Regions from separate parts of the Homo sapiens genome. Here all the other regions are linked to region 3. Evidence: promoter capture Hi-C in human tissues and cell types (Jung and others, 2019). All regions are on one chromosome and are shown on one strand. The core of a region is centred on a gene start or on the middle of the fragment in contact, and the rest is flanking DNA. Distances in the headings are between cores, read along the strand shown.

Region 1 (2,700 bases), core at 186-2,685, 150 kb before region 3:
GCACACAAAGCCCTTCATGACCCACTCTGCCCTCCTCAATAGATGCAGCTTCTGCCCACCGAAGAAAGCTTATACCAAATTCCTTTGGTTTCCAGATGTAGCCCCTTCTCTCAGGGTTCTGCACCTTATAAGTTATATTCCTACTGCTTGGAATGATTTCCTTTTTTTTTTTGTCTTCAGATGGATGAAAGCAGAAGACCACTTATATATTTACATAAAATATGCATAGTAGAGGAACATGAAGGAACCATATAGTACTTTTGCAATCATTGCTTTTTATGATATACCCAGAGGACAGTTATGTGTTGAAGTTAATCTCTACTTTTTCTTTGCTCATCCACTTCCAGGTCAAATTCTGATACAAGGTGTGGCATAATATATTCTCCTCTTGCAATGAAATTTTACTTTTTGGTAATAGTTGTGTGGAATAAGTAAATTCATTGAGATACAGAAATCTTCATAGTGATGGAGAAATGTGGTAAGCTAATTTCTGAATGGCAGGCATTTTTCTTCTTTTTTTGGTCTTCTCCATATGATAATTTTGTTTTGTTTCTTTTCTTTTCTTTTTTTTTTTTTTGAGATGGAGTTTTGCTCTTGTTGCCCAGGCTGAAGTGCAATGGCGTGATCTCGGCTCACTGCAACCTCCGCCTCCCGGGTTCAAGCGATTCTCCTGTCTCAGCCTCCCAAGTAGCTGGGATTACAGGCACATGCCACCACGCCCGGATAATTTTTATATTTTTAGCAGAGACGGGTTTTACCATGTTGGTCAGGCTGGTCTCGAACTCCTGACCTCAGGTGATCTGCATGCCTTGGCCTCCCAAAGTGCTGGGATTACAGGTAAGAGCCACTATGCCTGGCCTTTGTTTTGTTTCAAGACTGGTTTCAAACATTACTTTTTCTGTTAAATTTTCTCTTTCTTTCCAAACCAAATTAGATCCTATATTTCACTGTTTTGCCACACCATAAAAAATATTTCTGATAATTGTTTGTTCATTTGTTTATGTTGTCCCTCCTCACTAGATTGATTTTAAGGCCCATCCTTATCTACCTCTTCATTCCTAGTGACTGGCATATTGCCTGACAAACAGAAGGCACTTGGAAAGTGTTTGCAGGGTTGAATTAAAGTGTGGAGAGTTTGCTAACATCAGGTTCTTTCGTCCCACTCTGCAAGGGCAAGGGTATATTGGCATGAGTTGAGCCCCTTCAAACTATGTCCTGGTTCCTCATCTATACAGGTAAAGAAATGGGTAGACAAGGGGCTATTGAACATTTATGATTACAGCCCATTTAGATGGGGCAAAAGATTTCATAGTTATGGAAAGATGATTCAGTGATAATCAGAAAGTATAAATACAGGAGCAGGTTTTCGGGGATTAATAATACCTCTGCTGTATCAACAGCCCACATTCAGTCTATCTGCAAATCCTATATACTCCTCGTCCAAAATAAATCTCCAGTCTAGCCATCTCTACTGCCACTGGCCTAGTCTAAGCTCCTGGTTGACCAACACAATAGCCTGTACAATAGCCCACAACAAATGAGGTGAATCATAATAAGCTTAACTAAAAGAAGTTTAAAGTTAAAAAGCAAAAATGGCAGCAATTGAAAATCATGATGTCTAATCATATCAGTATGTTCTTGTGCTTGCAAAATGGCCAGATAGACAATATGGAATTAGAATTCTTTAAAAAGATCTAGAAAAGTAGATAGTAAAATGGTTACTCTAGTAAAGCAGATTAATAGATCTACCCTCTTACTTAGTTACCTTTTTGTGACAAGAGCAGCTATGATCTACTTATTTAACAAAAAACGCCTAATATAATACAATTTTTATTAACTTTCCTCCTACATTAGATCTCTAAACTTATTCATCTTACATACATGCTGTTTTGTATCCTTTGACCTACACCTCCCTGTTTCCTCTTCCTCACTGCATCCCACTGTTTCATTCTCTGTGTATTTGAACTCCTTTTTTTTTTTTTTAAAATCTACACATAAATGAGATCATGCAATATTTTTCTGTATCTGGCTTATTTCATTTAGCATAATGTCCTCTAGGTCCATCCATGTTGTGGCAAATAGCAGGATCTCCTCTTAGAGGGCTGAATAACATTCCATTATATATATATTATATATATAAAATGTGTCTGTATAATGCATATAATGCATGTGTATATATATATTATATATATAAATAATATCCCATTATACACACACACGTACATACCATTTTCTTTATATTTTCGTCTATTGATGGACATTTAGGTTGTTTCCATGTATTCCCTATTGTGCATAATGCTGCACTTAACATTGGGAATGCACATATCTTTACCAGTGGTATTTCATATTCTTTGGATATACATCCACTAGAAGGATTGCTGGGTCATGAGGTAGTTCTATTTTGAATTTCTTCAGGAACTCCATGCTGTTTTTCATAATAATTGTACCAATCTACATTCCCACCAATTGTGTACTAGGGTTCCCTTTTCTCTACACCCTCGCCAACATTTGTTGCCTATTGTCTTTTTGGTAATAGCTATCCTTATGGATGTGAACTGATATCTCCTAGTGGTTTTAATTTGCATTTCCCTGATGATAGTGATATCAAGTACATTTTCATATACCTGTTGACCTTTTTTTTTTTTTTTTGAGACAGAGTTTCACTCTTGTTGCTTAGGCTGGAGTGCAATGGTGCAATCT
Region 2 (2,700 bases), core at 35-2,534, 140 kb before region 3:
GTATCAAGGATATTCCATAATTACAGCTATTACCATAAGTCAATGGTTATTTGAACTCATTGTTAATCCCCTGCCTCTAAATTGATAAAAGTGAAAAAGGGAAAAAGGTGAGACAGTTTTTGTTATAACTCCTGAATTTTAATTAGCAAAACTGGGTAGATTTTTAAAACAACTTTTCAGACAGGCTTTTCTGAAGAAAAATATCTATTGAAGTTAAAAGTAAAATAAGACATAACTTCTGTAGGAATGTTTCTAATTTTATTAAAACAAACAAAAACAACAACAAAAACGTGCCCTACCATTCTTCTTTAAATTGGTCAGTGGCAAAATATTTTGTTTGCTGTGAAATTAGACACACACTTTATTTTCAAAAATCTAGTACAGAAATCTTTTCCTTTCTTTGGTTTTCCATAGTGCATAAAATTTTGGTGAACCGCTGCAGAGATTAAAACTTAGTAAAGTGAAAACAATGAATGCTTTTTCTTTTAAATTTAATGTCTTTAGGAGTTTATAGTTGGTGAATACAGACTTGTAAGCAGGCAGTTGCAATTAATGTGTTCAGTGTCATGATAAGAATAAGCTCTAAAATGTTAAGGGAGTATGTGAAGGACTCAATCCCGTTTTAGTAGGGGAGGGGAGTGATCAGGGAAAGTTTCCTGGAGAAAGTGACAGGTAAACTGCCATCTAAAAGGCCAGAAGGTGTTAGGCCAAGATAGATGGGCTAAGAGGTCCACCCAAAAGACAATATATGGAGACCCAAAGGTAATTGAGCATAGCATATTTTGGGAATTACCAGCAGTTTACATAGCTGTGATCTAGAATATAGGTTACATTCTATATCTCTGTGGTATATTCTGTATCACTAGAGAAGTGGAACAGCATTTAGGGTCTAGTGCGTAATCTTGTTGCTATGTTGAAGAATGGATGTAGGCAATTTATTGCATTCATACCTGCCAGTAACATGAAGAACGTATTGGGAAATCAGAGTGAGTAACACTAGTGAGGATACTGACACAGTAATCCAGACAAGAGATAAAGGTGCTTGTCCAAGTGGGGATGGGGTGGTATCATAGGCAAAATCTGGTGAGAGGGAACAATCAACGATGATACATTTCTAACTTGGGCAACTGGATGTATGATAGCAGTTTATTGAAAGGGAAAAAAGACATTAGATTTGGGAGGAGAAGATAATGGTTCTTTGTTGGACAGGTCGAAGTGTCCATGGGAAATTGAAGTGAAGCTGCCTAGTAGGAAGGCGGATTATTTGGATATGGAGCAATGTGCTAGAGATAATTTGAGAGTCTTTGGCTTACATGTGGCATTTGGAGCAATGGAAGTAGAAGCAACTGCCCACTGAAAATGGATAGAATGAGAAGACTCCAAGGAATACCAACATTGAGATAATGGGTAAGGGAAAAAGGTACAACCAAGAGCCAAGAGAGACAGCTGGAGTGGAGGCCAAAGAAGACAGGAGAGAGTGGAGACAAGGCTGTCAGGGGAAGAGAGTCTTTAAAAACTGGGGGATGGGTGGGGAAAGTAGTAACAGTGGATAACTGTGGACAAGTCAAGTAAGAACTGAAAAGTTTCCGTGGGTTAGTCTTTAGGCAACATTGGTGACTTGAGAGGCGTTTGGAGGACTGATAATGTGAAATGAGATTTGTGTAAGGTGGATAATGAGTAGAAATTGTAAAAGCTGAGTGAGTAAGTATGGACAACTCTTTCAGAAAGTTTGGCAGTTAAAAATTACTATAGCTACTGGGTAGAGAATGCATTGTAGCAGAAGAAGATTTTTAGGAGGACAAGTTAGGAGATTAATAAGCCAGGTAAGACTTTATGTGACTTGGGCCTGGGTAGTAGCCCAAGATGGAGAGAAGAAGATGCATTTGAGATATATCTTAGATAGGACCTTGTTAATGAATTGTTTGGGAGGAGATGGAAAGGCAGAGGTGTAGGAGTCAAGGATGACTCTCACGTGCTTTAGCTTGGACACCTGGGTGGATAGGAATGTGTCCCACCACCGAGAAAGGAGTACACTGGAGGGGGAATCAGGTATAGAGGGAAAATCCAGAGTTGTATTTTGGAAATTTTAAATTTGAGATGCCATTTAGAAACCCAGTTATAAATATCAAATAGATCACTGCATATGTGAATCAAAGAGTGCCCATTTGTTAATTTCTATACATTAACTATATTCTTTACTAATGTCTTCTAAACATTAACTGTATTCTTTACATTAACCTTTACTGGCCTGCCAAGACTTTCAGATTTGCTTATAAGAAGACATTGATAGTTTGGGTTGCTGGCCACTTAGTCTCCTGGCCAAATTGGGATTATCTATTCCCTACTCTATAGAACATCTTCTGTGTACACTGCATGATAAGATGTCATTGTTATGTGCATGAAGGAGAGCACAAAATATGCCGGGACAAGTTGCCTGAATAAGGTTAAAGTGCCTGCTTTTTGTCTTTAGACTATAAGTGCTTTGAGACCCAAGACCATATTTTCCTACACAGGATTTAGATAGTCAATGCTGTTTTATATTTATTGAATGAAAGAATGAAGCAAAAGCTATTAAATTGATTGAAAGAAAAACATCATTTATATCATACAATAATTTACAATTTTAGGGTGATTTATAACTGAGTAATGTTTACCTGCAACACTAAACTGGTTAGCATTTTATAGGTGAAGAAACCAAAA
Region 3 (2,700 bases), core at 4-2,503:
TAACCTGTGAAGCCCCCAAGATCCACCCCCACTCCCTTACCCGCTTCCTTCCTGACTTCACCTACCCCTCTTACCTTCCCTTGATCCTCCAGCAAGCCGGGCATCCTCATTCCTCCGCATTTATGCACCTGATCCTTTGACCAAAGTGCTCTTCCCTCTAGACCGCCTCCTTCGCCTCCTGTAGATTTTTATGCAAATACCCTGTTCTCAGTGAGGCCTTCCCTAACCTGCCTATTTAAAATGACCATCCCCATAACCGGGCACCGTTCCTCACACCTGTAATCCCAGCACTTTGGGTGGATGAGGTGGATGGTTCACTTGAGGCCAGGAGTTCGAGACCAGCCTGGCCAGCATATAGTGAAACCTCATCTCGACTAAAAATTAAAAAAAAAAAAAATTAGCCAGGCGTGGTGGTGGGTGCCTGTAATCCCAACTACTCTGGTGGCTGAGGCAGGAGAATCACTTGAACCCGGAAGGTGGAGGTTGCAGTGGGCCGAGATGGCGCCACTGCACTCCAGCGTAGGCGACAGACTCCGTCTCAAAAATAAATAAATACATAACAATAAAATAAAATAAAATGTCCATCCCAGTGCTCCCTATCTCTTTGCCCTACTTTTTCTCCCTAGTATTTACCACCATCTAACATACTACTTAGCATCTTATTGTCTATCTGCCCACACAATGTAAGCTTCACGTGGGCGTGGATCTGTCTTGTTCAGTGGTGAGTCCCCAGTGACCTGGTACATGGAGGTACTCAAAAATATTTGTTGCATAAAGTAATGAGCAAAGTTTGGCACAAATGTTAGCTATTATTATTTCAGGGCGTATCGGTAACAGCACCCTACCCTTTGCAAAAATCTCCTTGGGAACCAGAAACTTAAACACAACCAGGAAGAAAAAAAATCAGCCAAAAATAAAAGCGAATTAAGACAGTTGGGGTCTTATTTTAGAAATATACCTTTCTAGGTTCTGGTATGTTGGGCTCTGTCATCTTTCTACCTGATCAAGGAACCACTGTGACATTTTTTGGTAACTTCCAGTCTGTAGTTTGGATTTAGGAGTTCAGGATTCCAATCCTAATTTCCAGGTTCCAGCTGCGTGGCCCGAGTAGCCCGGCCAGCCCCACCCCGGGGCGCAGGAGGCGCGCGAAGGGCGGGAGTTCTCGGGTCCCCGCCCTCGGGGAGGCTCTGGGCGCGGGGCGGGACTCCGGGACGCTGGGCGGGCGTGCTAGGGCCCCGCCGCCCTGGCCCGGCCTTGCCTTGCGCTGCGCGCTCACCATGGTGGGCCCCGCGCCGCGGCGGCGGCTGCGGCCGCTGGCAGCGCTGGCCCTGGTCCTGGCGCTGGCCCCGGGGCTGCCCACAGCCCGGGCCGGGCAGACACCGCGCCCTGCCGAGCGGGGGCCCCCAGTGCGGCTTTTCACCGAGGAGGAGCTGGCCCGCTATGGCGGGGAGGAGGTAGGCGGGGGTGTCGCGGGCCGAGGGACCCGGGGTGGCGTCCGATCTGCGGCGAGCCGAGCGGGGACCCAGGAGGCGCCGGCGGCCCAGGAAGCTCTGGGGGACGCGCGGCCCGCGGCGGGCGCCCTGGGCCGGCGGGGGGCCTCCTCTCTCTAGGCCCCGAAGGATGGCCGAGGGGTGAGGACGAGTCCTCAACAGTCGGAGCGCTCCGCTTTGCCCGCACACCCCACCCTGAACTTCTCCCTCGGTCCCCGGGAGATTTCCCCTCTAGCCGCCTTTTCGTTGATGATCTGCGTACAGACCTCAGAACTTTTTGGTTTTCATGTTAGCATCAGCCGAGGCGTTTACTGTGCCCACGCATAGTGGGGAGTGGCGGGGGACGGAGGGAGGGAAGCAGAGCCTGCTCCCTGGGTTAGGTGGGAATTGAGACAGGTCCTGGGATAAGCCAGTCTTTGCCTGCACTTCCTTTTCCTGCCCCTGTATCCCAGGCCTCTGCATCGGACTCCTCAAACCCACTTTTAGGTCATGTACCCCTGGGGCTCAGCCAAAGCTGGAAGTGAGCGCAGAGGGTGGACTGGAGGTTAGAGACCCCCACAACCCCCCCGCCACACGTCAATAGAGACCCCCCCGCCCACACACACCCACACACGTCAATAGTCTAGAGGCGTCCAGAAAACTCACAACCACCTGCCCACCTGGGTTGGTTGGGACTGGAGCCGCACGACAAGGACCAACAGGGGGCTGATATTAGATGTGGAGCGGGGGAACGGCATTGGGGGGAGGTCATAGTACCATAGTATTTCAGAGCTGGCAGGAACCCATCTCCTGCTTTTACACATAAGGAAACTGAGGCCTGCCACCTGTTAGTGGTAGAGCAGGAAGAGGCCTGATGTTTTTCAAAACCCTCTGGCCTGGTCTCGCTAATTCCTGAGTTAATTGGCCTTATATGGACTAGGATTGCATGGGGGTATCAGAAACCTGGCCCTTAGTCAGTGATGCCAGTTTGGGCATCATTTGTGAAGGGGCCATTTAGAACCATGAGTCAGTGAGGACACCGAGGGAGGGAGACATGGCTGGGATGTGAGGATGTTAAGGGATGCCTTTTTGCCGGTAGCAGAGGGAACCAGATGGTTCAGAGTCCAGGCATCCGTGCAGAAAAGAATTAACATGGCAGGCCTGCTCTCCTTAGAAAAGCCTACTTGCAAGGGTGGGACTTGTCTAGTGTCTGGATTTCTCACCCTTCCCT

Evidence for each region. The method cuts DNA at HindIII sites, captures the fragments that hold promoters and counts their contacts. A contact is called where the count stands out against the background at its distance.
Region 1: a contact is called between a fragment that was not itself captured here and the fragment with the promoter of NENF in region 3, in 5 of the 25 tissues and cell types used here (IMR-90 fibroblasts, adrenal gland, aorta and 2 more).
Region 2: a fragment that was not itself captured here is called in contact with the fragment with the promoter of NENF in region 3 in 3 of the 25 tissues and cell types used here (IMR-90 fibroblasts, hippocampus and lymphoblastoid cells).

Annotation. Positions count from the first base shown.
Region 1 is chr1:212,276,763-212,279,462 of GRCh38, forward strand. The region is part of intron 1 of LINC02608 (long intergenic non-protein coding RNA 2608); the gene reads right to left. Among named protein-coding and RNA genes, the nearest start is that of LINC02608, 6.9 kb to the right of the region's middle. The HindIII fragment of the contact is 7,141 bases long and covers 1-2,700 here.
Region 2 is chr1:212,294,190-212,296,889 of GRCh38, forward strand. All of the region lies in intron 1 of PPP2R5A (protein phosphatase 2 regulatory subunit B'alpha), which reads left to right. Among named protein-coding and RNA genes, the nearest start is that of PPP2R5A, 10 kb to the left of the region's middle. The HindIII fragment of the contact is 9,503 bases long and covers 1-2,700 here.
Region 3 is chr1:212,431,667-212,434,366 of GRCh38, forward strand. NENF (neudesin neurotrophic factor) reads left to right here and starts at 1,254. Exons shown (of 4, transcript NM_013349.5): 1 at 1,254-1,454. The coding sequence starts at 1,278. LOC105372906 (a long non-coding RNA gene) reads right to left here and starts at 1,151. Exons shown (of 3, transcript XR_922577.4): 1 at 959-1,151; 2 at 75-178. RefSeq lists a silencer at 1,040-1,599 and an enhancer at 1,760-1,849. The HindIII fragment of the contact is 24,294 bases long and covers 1-2,700 here.